Regions from separate parts of the Homo sapiens genome. Here region 1 is linked to region 2. Evidence: promoter capture Hi-C in human tissues and cell types (Jung and others, 2019). All regions are on one chromosome and are shown on one strand. The core of a region is centred on a gene start or on the middle of the fragment in contact, and the rest is flanking DNA. Distances in the headings are between cores, read along the strand shown. Region 1 overlaps DCUN1D2 (defective in cullin neddylation 1 domain containing 2). Region 2 holds the start of LAMP1 (lysosomal associated membrane protein 1).

What was found. Contacts are between HindIII fragments. The study calls those that stand out against the background at their distance.
Region 1: a contact is called between a fragment that was not itself captured here and the fragment with the promoter of LAMP1 in region 2, in 2 of the 25 tissues and cell types used here (aorta and dorsolateral prefrontal cortex).

Annotation. Positions count from the first base shown.
Region 1 is chr13:113,477,567-113,480,266 of GRCh38, forward strand. The region is part of intron 3 of DCUN1D2 (defective in cullin neddylation 1 domain containing 2); the gene reads right to left. It also overlaps the pseudogene RNU1-16P. Among named protein-coding and RNA genes, the nearest start is that of DCUN1D2, 12 kb to the right of the region's middle. The HindIII fragment of the contact is 4,398 bases long and covers 1-2,700 here.
Region 2 is chr13:113,295,811-113,298,510 of GRCh38, forward strand. It overlaps LAMP1 (lysosomal associated membrane protein 1), which reads left to right and starts at 1,429. Exons shown (of 9, transcript NM_005561.4): 1 at 1,429-1,685. The coding sequence starts at 1,625. RefSeq lists a silencer at 1,560-1,839 and an enhancer at 2,070-2,249. The HindIII fragment of the contact is 17,303 bases long and covers 1-2,700 here.

The sequences.
Region 1 (2,700 bases), core at 160-2,659, 180 kb after region 2:
GAAACAGTCATTTGGGTTTTGTTCTGTCTCAAAGAGAAGGTGGCTTACAATTCCAGTAAGTATAATGTTTTCCATAGGAATTTTTTCCTTTTGGCCAGATTAAGAACTGCCCCTCTTATTCTTAGTTTTCTATGAGTTTTTTTTTTTTTTTTTAAATGAAGAAACATTGAATTTGATCAAACCCATCTTATGCACTGGGATGATCCTTTTTTTCCTGTTGTTAACCATGGTAAATTAATTACACCGATTGACTCTGTAACATTAAACGGATCTTGCATTCCTGGATATAACCAACTCTGTCATGATGTATCATCCTGGGCTTATCGTCTTGGGTTTTTTGCTAATGACTGGTCAGTTTCCTGATACTGTGTGTAGGATTTTTGCATCTTATAATCATCTTATGCATCTTCTGAGTCTTACAGCTGAGAGTGGCCTATAATTTTCCATTCTCAAATGTTCTTCCTTGGTTTTGTCATGCAGCTTTTGCTGGCCTTAAAAACAAATTGTGAAATCTTTCTTCCTTTACTTCTCTGGAAGAGGATGTTTAAAATTGGGGATTTTCCTTTTCATTAGGAGTTTGGTAGGATGTGCCAATTAAGTCATCCCAAACAGGAGTTGTCTCTTTGAGAAGATTTTAAACTACAGGCTCAAATTCTTAAGAGTTACAGAACTATTAAGATGTTCTATTTCTTCATGTGTCAGTTTTAGTAAATTACATTTTTCACATACGTTGTCAAATTTACTGGCATAAAGCTCTTCATACATGACTTTTTTTTTTTTAATGCTTCTGGCACCTATTATCTCGTCCCCCTTTTCATCTACGTACGTTACTTGTGATTTACCACATTTACAAGTCTTTTCAAATAACAAGCTTCTAGCTTTATTGATCCTTCCTAATGACAACTTCTTTTCTATTTAATTATTCTTGTAAATTAGTGCTTCTTTAAAAATATTAATTCCTTCCTTCTATATTCTTTTTCTATTTCTTGAGATGGAAGGCTTTGCTCACTGATTTTCAGCCTTTCCTTCTTTCTAAAATATGCATTTAATAAGCTGAATTCTACAAGCTTACATATATTGTATTTTCATTATTCAAGATATTTTCTAATTTCCATTGTAATTTCTTTCTCATCCCAAGGGTTACTTAGAGGTATGCAATATCCACACATATCCCTAGTTATCTTTTTGTTATATTCCTAGTTTAACTGTACTGTGGTCAGAAAACATACTCTGTATCATTTCAAACCTCTGGAAATTGTTGCAATTTACTTAATAGCCCAGTTTATTGTCAATTTTTATTAATGTTCTGTGCCTTTAATAAAGTTTTTTTTTTTTTAATTTTAAACACCAGGAGAGAACACGAACATAGTCCCCCACTACCACAAATTATGCAGTCCAGTTTCCCACATTTGGGAAAACCACAGGCGTCAGCACATCCAGAATGCAATGGATAAGCCCAGCTCTGGGAAAATCACCTTCATGATGATGGTATCTCTCCTGCCAGGCTGTTCTGTGTTTTCTTTTGAAAAGAATATGTATTCTTAAGCATCGAAGGCAACATTCTAAATGTTCTCCTAGGCCATTTGTTGTGCTGTCCAAATCTTCTATTTCCTCACTAATTTTTCATTGACTCATTCCATCAGTTACTACGATGTGTGTGAAAATTCCTCACTTTGATCATGGATTTGTATCTTTCTCTTTGTAGTTGCTTATTTTTGCTTTAAATACATTGGGACTCTTCAACAAATACATAAAAACGTAAGTGTGACTGCCTTCTTGGTGAGATAAGCCCTTTATCATTATGAAATGGTCCTCCTTATCTGTAGAGTTCCTGTATGCCTCAAAGCTGTTTTAGTTGTATCTATTTTAAACAATATGAACAGGTGATATTTAAAAATCCATCTGGGCCAGGCACGGTGGCTCCCGCCTGTAATCCCAGCACTTTGGGAGGCTGATGAGGCAAGGTGGTGTGTCCCCTGAAGTCAGGAGTTCAAAACCAGCCTGGCCAATATGGTGAAATCCCGTCTCTACTAAAAATACAAAAATTAGCCGGGCATGAGGCATGAGAATCGCTTGAACTCAGGAGACGGAGTTTGCTGTGAGCCAAGATCGTGCCACTGCACTCCATCCTGGGTGACAGAGTAAGACTCCATCTCAAAAAACAAACAAACAAACAAACAAGTAGGAGTACACTCGAAAATAATAAAAAGTTGAGTAAATAAGCTAGTAACATAAGCCTTTATATTATCAAGTATTATATACTGCACATAACTGGATGCGCTATGCTTTTTATACGACTGGCAGTGCAGTAGGTTTGTCTGTGCCAGCATCACCACACACAGGCAATGTATTGTGCTATGACACTATGATGGCTGGGATGTAGGAATTTTTTAGCCCCATTCTAACCTTACGGGACCACTGTTGTATAAGCGGTCCACTGTTGACCGAAATGTCATTATGTAGTGCATGACTGTAGTTCAGTAAGCTTAATGATTAAGAGACAGTTACATTAGGCCCTTTCATTTACTTTTATAACTTATCTGATAAGCGAGAAACACCTTAAGTTATTAATGAAGCCTTTATCCCAATCCTGTAGGTAGAATAGAAAAATGTTACAAGCAAAAACCAAAATGACATCTTAGTTTTTAACAGAGCAGCATAAGAAATTCTACGTTTAATATACAGTATTATGAAATAACA
Region 2 (2,700 bases), core at 179-2,678:
AGGAGTGTATTCCAGCCTGATCCAGACAGAAGTCATTGTCTTCCAAGGAAGTCCTTGATGTGAGCAGATCCTTAGGCAGCAGATGCAGGGTGCTAAGCACAAGTGACAGCAAGGTGGGGTCTATCAAAATGCCAGTGTTGAATTGGTCAAATCCCGCCCTTTTTAAGGTCACAGTCCTCTGGTGAGGACTGATAGTGAGTGCCTGGTCCTGTCTTTATCTGGCTGAGTGCTGTCTCTATTAACTAGGTGCACATCCAGTCCCCGTTGCTATGATGCCTTTTGAAATGTAAGATTAAATCTTTTTCTAAGATGTAGGTACTTATGCGACGGGTGCTTTATACAAAGCAGTAGCGTAGGGGCCTTAATTAAATAGTATTTTAACAAAAGGCCATAAATCCTATATGATGACAAGCCAAAAAACAGAGCATCTTCAGACTTCTAAAATGCAGGAGCCAGGCGCCGTGGCTCAGGGCTGTAATCTCAGCACTTTGGGAGGCCGAGGCGGGTGGATTGCTTGAGGTCAGGAGTTCGAGACCAGCCTGGCCAACTGGTGAAACCCCGTCTCTACTCAACATACAAAATCAGCCGGGCGTGGTGGCGCACGCCTGTAATCCCAGCTACTTGGGAGGCTGAGGCAAGAGAATCGCTTGAACCCGGGAGGCGGAGGTTACAGCGAGCCGAGATCGCGCCACTGCACTCCAGCCTGGGCGACAGAGCGAGACTCCGTCTCAAAAAAAAAAACAAAGTGCTCGACAGGAACTTTCTGTAAGCCAAAGAGTATCGCCATCGCACCTTCACCTTCACCTTGGGCAGCCTGGTGCCGTCTTCCCTCAGCCCGCGATTAACGAGCGGAAGGCCGCACTGACCCATTTCAGATCCCTTATTTCCTTCCTAAAACCACTCAAGAGTTTGGGCACAGTGGCCTCCCTGTGTGAGGAACTTGCTTCCCACTCACCAAAAGACAAACCCTTCGCCCATCCCTGGCCGCGCACCCGGCCGGTCACCCGCGCTGCCACCCACACCACCCTCCTGTCCATAAAGAGCCCGCGTTTGGGACGCCTCGCAGGCTGAAGGGAGGCCTGGGCGTCCGCGATCCGTCTGCCCTTTCTCCCCTCGCGGGCTTCCTCTTTCCTCACTTTCTCCCGCCACTACTCTTCCTCTTCCTTTTCCGCGAACCCAGCCCACTTCCCGTTTCAGGACCTCGGCTCGGCCCCAGTCCCCCGGACCAGGCCGGGTCACGTGGGTCCAGGGTCACGTGCCGCTGCGGGTCACGTGCCGCTGCGGGTCACGTGTCGGCCTGCATCACGCGTGAGGGGGCGCGCGGTGCTGGAAGCTGCCGCACCTGCGGGGAGCCGAGCCGCCGGCGCTCGACGCGCGCGCTCTCGCGAGACCCGCGGGATCACGTGACGCCCGGGCGCGGCGCAGCTCACGTGACAAGCGCTGCCGGCCGCGGTGTCTTCTTCGTGCCGGCGTCGCAGTGGCCGGGCCTCTTGCGTCTGGTAACGCCGCTGTCTCTAACGCCAGCCCTTGGCGCCCGCGCCCCGCCACCGCAGCGCCCGGCAGTCCGCGGCCCAACCGCCGCCCGCGCCCCCGCTCCCCGCACCGTACCCGGCCGCCTCGCGCCATGGCGGCCCCCGGCAGCGCCCGGCGACCCCTGCTGCTGCTACTGCTGTTGCTGCTGCTCGGTGAGGGGGTCGAGGCGGGGCCTGGGAGCGGCGGGACCGGGCGGAGCCGAGGTCCCTGGGTCTTGAGGGCGGGGGACTGCCGGGTCGTTGTCCCGCGGGTCGCCCCGCACCCACTGCTCCTGGTCCCGGCCGGCTCTGCCCGCGGGCGGGTGTTTCTCTCGGGGTCGTAGGGTCGGAGCGGAGCTCAATGGCAGGTGCTTGGGGGACCAGGAGGTCTCATCCCAGGACCTGGCTCCTCTAAGGTCTGTCTCACTGAACTCAGTTTTTCTGTGGTGGTGAGTGCGAAAGGGAACTTCCGATGGCTTGCTCGGCGGTCTGGTGCTTTCAGGTCGTTAAGTTTCCTGGCAAGTTGAGGCGGTGAGATCTAGACGAGGCTGCGCCGCCGAAGGTGGCAGGGACGTCTGTGGTCTCAGCTCCCGGGTGGGTGACCTAGATCAAGCTCTTCCCAACATGGATTTCACCCAGGACAGGGAGAAGCCGGTGCGAGCATTCCCCACCTTTGTACTTGAACCTTTCTCCTCTTTCAGCGGTGTGGAGGAGATGCGAGTGTATTTATGTTATTGTGAATTCACATGTATGTTAAAATAATTTTTAAAGTTATCTTTGGGATTTCACAAGATTCCGTAGTAGACAAGATGAGGGAAAGCTGGCCTCAGACTCACGGTGGCAATGTTCATGTCTAGTAAGTAGTTTAAAGAGCGCCGTTCCTGTAGGCCGAAATGCGGGACCAGGGAACACGTGGGGAAGCACCCTTCTCTTCTGTCAGTTTATAGAGCTCAGATGGGCAGTAGGTGCTCAATATTGTATTGACTAGTGAATTTCGTTCTCATTTATTGTCTTAATAAGAGGATGTGTGCTGTCTCTTTAAGACAGTCCGGATTGCCCCCCGCCAACACTATTCTTTCACCTCCTCCCCCCGCCGCCCTCCCCCGTAATATGAGAAGATTATCTTAAATGCCAGGATCTGAAAGGTGATGTAGAATCAAGCTGGGGGAGTGTGTGTGAGTTAAGTAGA